2 separate regions of the Homo sapiens genome follow, and region 2 is linked to region 1. Evidence: promoter capture Hi-C in 16 types of primary human blood cells and fetal thymus (Javierre and others, 2016). All regions are on one chromosome and are shown on one strand. Each heading gives the region's core, a stretch centred on a gene start or on the middle of the fragment in contact. The rest is flanking DNA. Distances are from core to core; before and after follow the strand shown. Region 1 holds the start of ZNF516 (zinc finger protein 516). Region 2 has its middle 35 kb from the start of LINC01922.

What was found. Contacts are between HindIII fragments. The CHiCAGO score rates a contact against its expected background, and 5 or more counts as called.
Region 2: a fragment that was not itself captured here is called in contact with the fragment with the promoter of ZNF516 in region 1 in 1 of 17 cell types (naive CD8 T cells); the score reaches 6.1 in naive CD8 T cells.

The regions. Positions count from the first base shown.
Region 1 is chr18:76,491,949-76,497,216 of GRCh38, reverse strand. ZNF516 (zinc finger protein 516) reads left to right here and starts at 1,975. Exons shown (of 7, transcript NM_014643.4): 1 at 1,975-2,073. It overlaps ZNF516-DT (ZNF516 divergent transcript), which reads right to left and starts at 1,878. Exons shown (of 2, transcript NR_164145.1): 1 at 1,431-1,878; 2 at 1-938. It overlaps ZNF516-AS1 (ZNF516 antisense RNA 1), which reads right to left. Exons shown (of 2, transcript NR_136504.1): 2 at 3,299-4,460. RefSeq lists silencers at 1,866-1,925, 2,056-2,155, 2,856-2,945 and enhancers at 4,044-4,183, 4,864-4,913. The HindIII fragment of the contact is 7,170 bases long and covers 1-3,190 here.
Region 2 is chr18:74,371,808-74,377,075 of GRCh38, reverse strand. No RefSeq gene overlaps it. Among named protein-coding and RNA genes, the nearest start is that of LINC01922, 35 kb to the left of the region's middle. The HindIII fragment of the contact is 151 bases long and covers 2,228-2,378 here.

The DNA.
Region 1 (5,268 bases), core at 726-3,225:
GACAATGCCCTGAGTGAAATCACATGTGGGTGACTTAAGACAGGGCCCTAAACCGGCTAGAAAAAGGAAGCAAGTCATGAACAGTTTTATGTGGAGGGGTTTGGAAGTCTTGATCACCATTCAATGATCTACCTTGTCCATTTTCAACACATGGAAATTGTTAGCGCAAGTTTGTACTTTAAAATAGACCCAAGAATGCAGATGAACGTAGGTTTACAGGACTGATATTCATTCCAAAATCCTACCAAAAAGCTATTAAAGTGTCTTCAAATTTTAATCTTTGTTGTTACCTACATGTATGTAATAATATGTGTATACAAGGACATTTACGGCTTTGTAATTAACTGAATTTGGGGATACTTTCTTTGTGCATTTTCACAGTGTACTGAAATGAATGGTGGGCACGTCAATACTTTTCGGTGAATCAGACTTAAACGTGATTGCTGAAGAATACATCCCACTTAGGCATTCATGCTGAAGCCAGCAACAATTGTCCGTGACCTTTAACATGCCCGCTCTCCAAATCAGTGCAGGTCGTTAGTCACACGGAGCTTACATTTGAGGACTCGCGGATCCTTCATAGCGGAGGTTGTCCCTGTCTTTCTGCCTGACTCCCCCCCGCCCCCCGACCCCGACACACACTCCCCACCGCCCCCAGAAACATCACACATGCAGAATGCCCCCCCCGTCTGATCGCCAGCTTTCGGGCACATGCGCCTCCCTTTGCAGCGCGTCTGGAGTAGTTTCTTTTGTAAACGCCCTAAGTTGGGGAGGGCCGCGGGCTGCGAGTGTGAGGCGCAGAGAGAGACGCCGCCGCTGAGGTAACCGCCAGGATTGCAGCGCTGATTGCTACGCGGAGCCACGTTGGGCGTCTTGGACGGAATCCACCTCCACTGCGGAGTTATCACGAGGAGAAGGAGAACAATACGGCCAGGAGCCTGGTGGGAGAAGATAGTGTTACCCCTCCGCAGGCCGCAGCTCCCCGGGTCTACGTCACCGGCCGTGAAGGGGCGCTCGCCCTCGCTAGCTCCGACCCGCCCCTCCCCCGCCCCCGCGCGCCCGCCCTCCCCTCCCCCACCCCGGCCATCCCTGCCCTGTAACAGGAGAGCGTTTTGGAGTCAAATTAGGATTTCTAGTCCCAGACTCAACTTATTACAACTAACTACTGCTCGTGGGGAGTAGGTGAGGTGAAGAAATGAAGTTTTAAGAACAGAAAAATAAGAGTTGAACTTTCGAGGCTACCGGTAAACAACCCCTTCATTTTTAAATGGCCGGGTGGCAGAGCCGCTGTTTGAAGTCTTTCCAGCGGGACCTCTGTGACCCTTGATTCAGGACTTAATGTATTGATCCTGCATCTGAACACCCCCAGAGGCATTTACCAGGAAGTTGAGTGACACGCACACGCTACGCCGTGTGTAATGCACACGCACCTGGGACCCCCGAAGGGGTGTCCCCATTTCAGTCCAGATGGGGCGCAGTGCCCAGGTACCCGCCGGCGGGACCCGCATCCCGAGCACGTCTGTACGTATGGATGCGCGTGTGCGCGCGGAAACGGCCTCCGGGAGCCGGGGCTGCAGCAGCCTTAGACCTTGACGAGGGGCGACCACTGGCCGCTGGAACCGTGATTCAGTGCTATTAGGGGAGGAATTGGCTGTGTCTGAGTCACTGCAAGCCTCCAGACTGTCCCCTCAGTGTGGCAGAACTTTGTGCTGATGAGACAATAGTGGAGTGTGCGTTTCCTACAGGGCAGACCATTTCCAGGCTGGGGGAAGCCTCCGGCCTGCGCCGGGCCGTGAGCGCCCGGCCCCCTCCCCGTGCCGCGCAGCCCCCCGAGCCCGGCTCGCGCCGGGGCCCCCGCGGGGCGGACGCGTCCGGGGCGCGCGCGGGCGGCGCGAGGAGGGGGCCGGGCGCGTGGCGGGCCCCGCGCGCCCTCGCGCGTCCCCCGCGCCCGGGCGCAGCTGGCGCGGTCGGTCTAGTGCAGCGCTCGGCTCCGCGCCGCGGGCGCTCGGCTTCACCTTCAGATGCGCGGGGCGTGCGCGTCCTCCTCCCCAGGCCCGCCGCCTCCCTGCCAAGGTAGGGGCCGCGGGCGGGGGGAGGGCTGCGCCGCAGGGGCCGCGGGCGGGCGGTGGGCGCGGGGCCCGGAGCCCCGACGTGCCCCGTACTCTGGTGTGCGCCGCTGGGGGTAGGGGGGGAGGCGCTGGGGAGGGGGGTGCGCCGGGGAGGGGCCCCCCGGGCGCGGGGAGGGCTACTTGGCTTTCCCGGTGGGTAGTTGCTCTGCTCGTCAATTCCAGGATAGGGGAAGATGCAACTTCGGGCGGCGGGGCGAGCGCCCGGGAGGTGGTTTTTACCGCAGTGGAGGGGCGGGGTGGGGGCCGGGGTGGGAGCGCGGAAGAGGCTCTGGCTTTGTACACTTTGTCAAAGGCGACGCGGGAGGAGGGGAGCTCGGATGCGCTCTCCATCCATTAGGAGACAAAGAGCAAATTGCCTTACTTTAAAGTAAAACGCTCCGGCTAATGAAGGTGGGTGATGGGGCTGCGGGCCCGAGGAGCCGCTTCAATTATTAAGGGTTTGGCGGATGGGATCGATGCCTGTGGGCACCGCGCGCTGCTGCCTAGGGGACGTGTTTGCGTGGAGGTGGGGGTGGCCTTGTTTTTTACGGCCCCCTCCCCGGCTGCTTGCCAGTCTGCTGGGAGCTTCTAAGTGACCCTAACGTTAAAGAAGTGAGAGGTCCTGGAAGGGAAGTTCGGGCGGGGGTGGGGGTGGGGGCGAGGGTCTGGCACCGACTCGGAGAGGGGTGGGCAGGGACTCCTCGGAGCTGCGCCCCGCCGGGTGCGGGTGGGGGAGGCCTCGGTGGCGAGATGAACCCGGGTGTATGAAGGAAGAATGCGGTGGGGTGTGTGTGGTTGGGCGGGAGGTGGGGGGAGGCGCCTCCGCTGCCATTTCCAGGGAGAACTAACAGACTGAATAGTTACGATCAGTATTTAGATTAAACCGCCTCAAGTTTTAACGAAACTTTGTATGAATAAGTTTGTTAAATGGCAGCCGAGTGGGGTATTTAAAAGCAGCAGTTTATGTGTGTGGTGAGGAAAGCCAGTGGACCCCCGCAATTAGGGACCAGAGGGAACCAGCCTTTTACCCGAAAAATGTGGGTCTGTAAGTCAGCCTCATCTATTATCAGCGTTAATAAGCTTCCCGCAGCAGACCGGGAGCTCTGGGGGCTGTGTGTGTGTCTTACTCATTCCGCTGATAAAGAGTCACCGGGTCTCCGGGTGTGCAAAGATCAACTTGCGCAGCCCTCTTTTTAAATATATTCATTCTGTGCTTTATTTAATCCAGATGCACAAAAAGCCATTTGCTGCTGCATTGTTGGTTTACATTTTTTGAAAAGGCGACTGGTGTAACCTGTGGAATTTGAAATGCAAATAAGAGCCTGTGGGAGTAGAGGCAGAACAGATCAGCATTTATAAAGTGGAAAAGATTTAATGTCTTTGAAATCATTGCAGGGGAAGAAACTGGAGGGGGAGTGTGATTTTTCAGGGAGTGAATTGTGACGTCAGGTCTTTTTGGAAAAGATGTTATTTTTAAGGTCTGAAACCCGGCTAGGTAAAGTGCTTACAGGAAAAACAGATTACAAGATTAACATCTGTTAACATGATCGTTTATCTCCAGCCAAAAATAGGTCAGTTCTTTCTTAAGGAAACACGATTGCTGGCGCATGCTTAAATAATAAAATCAAAACGGCGAGTTCATAAATTAGGAACGAGTGTTTGTTACAATCTGACCTGTGAAGAAACGTTTTTGAATTTCGAGATCAATGGAAGGTCAAAGTCCCTTTTCGGTGTAGAGAGCAACTCTTTCCCCTGCGTCGGCCCCCGCCCCCCCCCCCGCCCCCCGCGGAATGACCCCTCCTTCTTTCTCGGAGCTCCCTTTCCGCCTCCACTCCCTTCGTGAATTTCCCTTTCCATCCTTTGTGGAAGTACAAAATATATTTAAATGGATATCGTCTGACGCCTCCCTCCTTAAAGAAGGCAAACTCTGCGCAGATGGCTAACTTTCAGAGCTCTGCTGTTGTTTTACCATTAAATGAAACGGTAGGGAGGAGAGGAGGAAAAAAAAAAAAGGAAACAGCTTTGCGAAGTCTCCCTGCCCCCTGGGCGTGAGTGACGGCTCTGCTGGCCAATCCGCAGCGGCTTTCTCCATCCCGGAGGTAATTTGGGGTGTGTGTGTGAGCGCGCGCGTGCGCGTGCATGAGCCCATGTGTCTGCACACTGTGAAGTCTGGCCAGCCCCGCGCATCCGCAGGCTTCTGCATTTACACAGATGTGTGATGTAGACGTGGACACGCTTTTATTCGAGTCAGTTCGGCTACATGGGCACGCAGCAGCCCCCACGGAGCGCCTCCCCCTCCGAACGTTCTGTGAAGCATGGGGTTTAGAAGCACTTTCAGATTCAGGTCGGAACCTGCAGAAGGGGGAGAAAAGAGGAGGGCTGTGATTGTTTCTCAGCAACTGGGGACTCGAAACGTGCGGTTTCTCTGGCCTTGGTGCCTGGGCACGCGCGCCCTGGTGCGTTTTTGGTTCAGGTGATGATGGAACCCACTCGCCCGGGCAAAGCGAACTGAGAACGCGGATTGCTGAAACTGATGTGAACTCCGTAGAAAAGTGAAGGGCAGCATGTGTCTTCCAACTTCACATGTGATTTTCTCACTGGGAGTTGATGCCTAGTCCCTGGCAAATTCTAGAAGGTGAAGCGCTCGTGGCCAGTGAAAGTTCGGCTGCCCACCCGCCTCCTGAACGCTGCGCCCTGGCTGCGTCTGACCCGCACAATGGGCGTATTCACGGGCACAGCGCGTCACCGGCCACCCCACGCTTGCAGCTGACTTACTGTGGCACCGACTTTCTCAGGAATATCGGTAGTGATGTGTGTGGCTCGCGTAGTACGCACCTCGGGAAGCGTACGGACCCGACCTGAGCCGAGCAGCATCTCCGTGTAAATGTTGGAGACGCGGTGTCTTCCGGGAGCACCGCGGGGTTGCTGCGCTTCTGTACCCACCGGGATGGGGATGATGCAATGGAGAGGTTAAGGACCCACGTGCCCACTACCTCCCCGGAGACCCCTGCAGGGAGACCCCTGGGAGGGACCTCGTCCATGCGCGGGTGTGCCCGGCCACCAGGCCGCACCGAGGTCACCCGAGGGTCCGTGGGCGACCTTCGTCCTCCTCTTCTGCAGAAATCTAACTCGGTTACAAGGTAGCGTCCGACTCCGCGCC
Region 2 (5,268 bases), core at 1,054-3,553, 2.1 Mb after region 1:
AGAGTTACATTGCTGCAGATTGTGTTTCTTTAGAATAATTTTTTAGAATAATTTTCTTTCCCAAATATGGCTATAGACCACAATGTGCAAATATTTTATTGCTTATTTTTGTGGAGTTGGTGCATATCTCCTCACAGGCGGTCCCTAGAGAAGTTCCCCATGCTGTAGGAAACCCTGACAGCTTGGCCTTCTCTTCACTTCTCTGCAGTGGGGGAGAGATCATTGTAAAGGAAAAAGAGAAAGACAGGAGGAAAAGTAAGTTAAGGTCAGGTCGGGGGAAAAACAAAGGGAAGGAATGAACTGGGCTTGGGGCTGTGCAACTTACAAAAGGGAAGGAATGAACTGGGCTTGGGGCCGTGCTATGCAAAAAGGAAGGAATGAACTGGGCTTGGGACCGTGCAGCTTGCAAAAGGGAAGGAATGAACTGGGCTTGGGGCCGTGCTACTTGCACTAGGTTACTGGTGTTTCATCTGTTGTGTTGTTTAGAAAGGACAATCCAGCCTTTGGGAAATGTACCAATGCTGGGCCATGCACCCTAATAATTTGGAAGACTGTGGGGCTGGATTATCCCAACTAAATTTCACAAATAAATTTTTCTTCTAAAATAAGTGGTTATAACCACTGCTGATTACCCTGGGAAGGGGTCACTAGTCCATGGCAACTGCAGCCCAGAGTGGAATGAAGAGAAGGAGGTGGAAGCTCGTGAGGGAGCTGTTCTGTAACCTCCACTGCTTACTCGCTTCTTTAATGACTTGCAAGTGACTCAGATCCAACATACACAACAGTAAACCCATGAAGTTCTTTCATGCCCTCCCCTACCCATGTTTATCACCCTGGATTTTGCCATCTCCGTGAATGGGACCATCATCCACCTGCTTGCCCATGGCAGTAACCTCAAAACTGCGCATGACTCATTGCTTTCTCCATCGTCTCTGGATCTCATTAATGATCTGCTAGTGATCTCATGCTTCTGGCCATGAGGGAGTAAGACGGCCTGTGATCTCCCTCCCTCTGTAAGCAACTATAAAAAAAGGATAAAATATAGAAAGCCACTATTTGGATATAGGGCAAAACAAGACTGTGATTCCTGAGAAAAAGGAAGAAGACAAGGTAAGCCCTACCATCAGCTGGCCTTTCTGCCTAGAGATAAGTCCTGGGCTACAGTCCAGGGAGGGAGAACTCCAAAAAAGTGAGGCAGCTTCACAGAGCTGCAGAGACAGAGGTCAGAGATGGGGAAGGCCAGGCGGCTCTGTGAAGAACCTGTGAGGCAGAGTTCTCAAGGGAAGGGGCTACACAGATAAAAGTACTCCGGAAATCTGCACATGAGTTCATGGAATCTTTTTAAAACAGAAGTCTATAGAAATATAAGGCCAGATAAGAAAAGCTTCTGGTGAAAGAGTAATTATGAGGAGTTCTTTTTTTTTTTTTTTTTGAGATGGAGTCTCACTCACTCTGTCGCCCAGGCTGGAGTGCAGTGGCATGATCTCAGCTCATTGCAACCTCCACCTCCCATGTTCAAGTGATTCTCATGCCTTATCCTTTTGAGTAGCTGGGATTACAGGCACCCACCACCACACCCAGCTAATTTTTATATTTTTAGTAGAGATGAAGTCTCACCATGCTGGCCAGGCTGGTCTCAAACTCCTGGCCTCAAGTGATCTGCCAGCCTCGGCCTCCCAAAGCACTGGGATTACAGGCATGAGCCACTGCACCTGGTGAGGAGTTCTAAAATGAACAATTCCCTAAAATTGCAAAGCCAAAAATCACTCAAGTTCCCTCCAGCCAGAGAGAGAGACCTCACTGAATATATGGGGCATTTAGAACAAGCCCCAGAAAGGCCATGACTTAGAAGAGGAGTCAAATCAGTCCTGGAATAAAGGCTACTCTAGGCCCCAAAAAGCTTATAAGTAAACCTCAAGGGAATCAAACTAATTTCTGAATAATTTATAGAACAAGTAGATAAAAAATCAGTAAGGATATAGAAGACTCGAACACAGTATTAATCAATTGACCTCACTGACATGTATAGATGGCTTTACTCAACAACAGCAGAACACATATTTTTCATAAGTGCTTGTAAAACATTCGCTATACCAGATCATACATTAGGCTATAAAATAAGCTTACATAAATTTAAAATAGTAACCACAGTGGAATAAAACTAAATAGCAATAAGAGAAAGGTATAATATATGGAAAAGCCACAAATATTTGGAAATTAATAAGCTTCTAAATGGAAATTGGAAAGTATTTCAAACTGAATGAAAATGAAAATATAACATGTCAAAATTGTGAGATATAGCTAAAGCAGTGATTTGAGGATTATAGCATTTCATGCTTTTATTGGCAAAGAGAAGTCTAAGGTCAGTCATCTAAGCTTTTACCATATTCAGTTAATAGTAAATCCTGTCAATTGTACTTCCTAAATAACTCTTAATCAGTTTCCTTCCCTCTGTCCTGCTGTCACAGCCTCCTGATCCCCCTATCTTAAGTCATCTCCAACCCCAAATTCCCAGTTCTTTCTTGTCAGCTGCACCTCTCACCACTACTTTCTCCTTGCACTTCAGCCTTACTGATGTCTCTAGTTCCTTAAAGCTCTCATGGTCTTCTCTGGGTCATCTCACACACATTTTCCTTGCCTGACCACTCTTTTATTTCCAATTCACCCTGCTAATTCCCACCCATGGAATTTCTCTTCTTTCTGGAAGGCTGGGTCCTGCTATACGCTTCCGTTCTAGCTCATTGTACTTCCTTTGTGGTGGCATTTAACCTATGCTCGTGATTTCTTTAATTGTCTGTCTTCCCCAGCAGCTGGGTCTCGTCTTGTATATCACATTGTGTATCTGTCCCCTTGCACACTTTCTGGCACTTATTGAGTGCTTAACATCTATTTGACAAATGAATGAAAGCCTATTTTAGTGGAAATATGACCACTTAATTTGTAGTTACAGGTTGAGAAGATCAGCATTCCTGGATCACAGTTCGCAGTCAACATTGGGCATCTCCCAGCATCCATTTGTCTTTCTTTTTTAATAACCGCCCTGAATTCTGTTGGGGGCTCATGAGGTTCCTGAGAAGCCACTTATCCCAGCTCAAGTAGTTGCTCAAATATTCATCATTGAGAAAACAGATCTGTTTTTGTGGCTTCAGTTACTTAAAACTATCATTTCTCAGTTAAATATGTTATTGGGATTCCCTGGAAGTGTACAGGGTCCTCCCATTAAGTCATCCCCCTTTAATGAGCGGTACTGGGGTGAAGGTATCTGGCAGGTTCCTGTTAGGCTTTTCTGGCTTGACTATTTACTTTTTTTTTTTTTAATTATACTTTAAGTTTTAGGGTACATGTGCACAACGTGCAAGTTTGTTACATATGTATTAGCTTCGCATGTTCAAAAGGATGTGGGTGCTTACCTAGTGCCCTAGAAACAGCACAAGCCATAACGTGACGTCTCTGAGTGAAACAGGCCTAAAGCCACAAAGGAGATAAAACAGATAAGGTAAGAATAAGACGAGAAAATCAAAGTGGAATTAACCTAAATTTAACACTATCACTCCTGTGGTATCTGCACATATCAAACAAAAGGAAATAGCTATCTGGCTTGACGGCAAAATGCCGTGCCTCGTGCCACCTTTTTTAAAAAAACAATAATATGAATGATTTTTTCCTTGATAATACAAATAATTCATATTCATTATGGAAAATTTGGACACTTTTTAAAAGTATTTAAAAATGGGTCACCCAAAATAATACACAAAATACCCACTGGTAATGTCTTTTTTTTTTTTTTTTTTGAGACAGAGTCTTGCTCTGTTGCCCAGACTTGAGTGGAATGACATGATCTCAACTCACTGCAACCTCCGCCTCCCAGGTTCAAGCAATTCTCTTGCCTCAGCCTCCCAAGCAGCTGAGATTATAGGTGCCCACCACCATGCTGGGCTAATTTTTGTATTTTTAGTAGAGGCGGCTTTCACCATGTTGGTCAAGCTAGTCTCAAACTCCTGACCTCAAATGATCTGCCCACCTCGGCCTCCCATGAGCCACTGCGCCCAGCCCATTGGGAATGTCTTGTTGCATTTCTTTTCATAACTTTTTATACATATACAGACAGATGTGTATTTTTCTTTTCAAAATTAAAATTTTTTTGTACATTACTTTTTTCACATACATCATAACCCAAAAAAGTGATTTTTGGCTGGGCGTGGTGGCTCACACCTGTAATCCCAGCGCTTTGGGAGGCCGAGGCAGGCAGATCACGAGGTCAGGAGTTCGAGACCAGCCTGGCCACCATGGTGAAACCCCGTCTCTACTAAAAATACAAAAATTATCTAGGCGTGGTGGCGAGCGCCTGTAATCCCAGCTACTCAGGAGGCTGAGGCTGGAGAATCATCTGAACCCGGCAGGCAGAGGTTGCAGTGAGCCAAGATCACACCATTGCAATCCAGCCTGGGCCATAGAGCAAGACTCTGTCTCAAAAAAAAAAGAAAAATAATTTTTATGACTTTCTATTTTGTGGATATGCTATAACTATTTAAACAACAATTTTTCTATTGTTGCACATTTAGGTTGCTCCTATTTTTTACTAATATAAATTACTCTGTGTGAGCATCTCGGCTTGAATCACAGGTCACCTTCCCCTCTTGTGTTCTGGGTCATCTTTTGCTTTCTCAAGGACCTCATCCCTGCAGTTAGTCACGTTCTCTCCTGCTCCATCAATGTCTCTCTCTCCCATGAATTCTTCCCATCTGCACACACATTCTCTAATAGCTTCCATCATAAATGAACAAAAGCCCTCGTCTCACCCTGCATTCCCTTCCAGCTTTACACTGATATCTCTGGCTCCCTTGAAAGCTACACTTATTATGGGAAGATCTGATCTTGGTTACAGTCCCCACTTCCTTACCCAGTATTCACTCCCATGCACGCTGACCAGGTATATCATCTACCCCTGAATTAAAACTGCTTTCTGTGAGCTTACCAACCATTGCTGATCAGATCCACGCCTCTGTCCTCATCTTCTCTAGCCCGTTGGCAGCATTCAGTAGAGCAAACCATCCTTCCAGACACACTCTCAGCTCCTGGCTTCTGTCACCCCAACCCTTTTGCCTCTCCTCTCACCCCTGCATCCTCTGCTGGCTTTTCTCCCTCATCTTGTCTAAAAACTGTTGAGGGTACTTTAGGGTTTCCTTTTGGACCTCTTCTTTTCTAGACATTCCCAGGGTAATCTTATTTTCTCCCATGGCTTTAACTACCAGTGATCTGCTGATGATG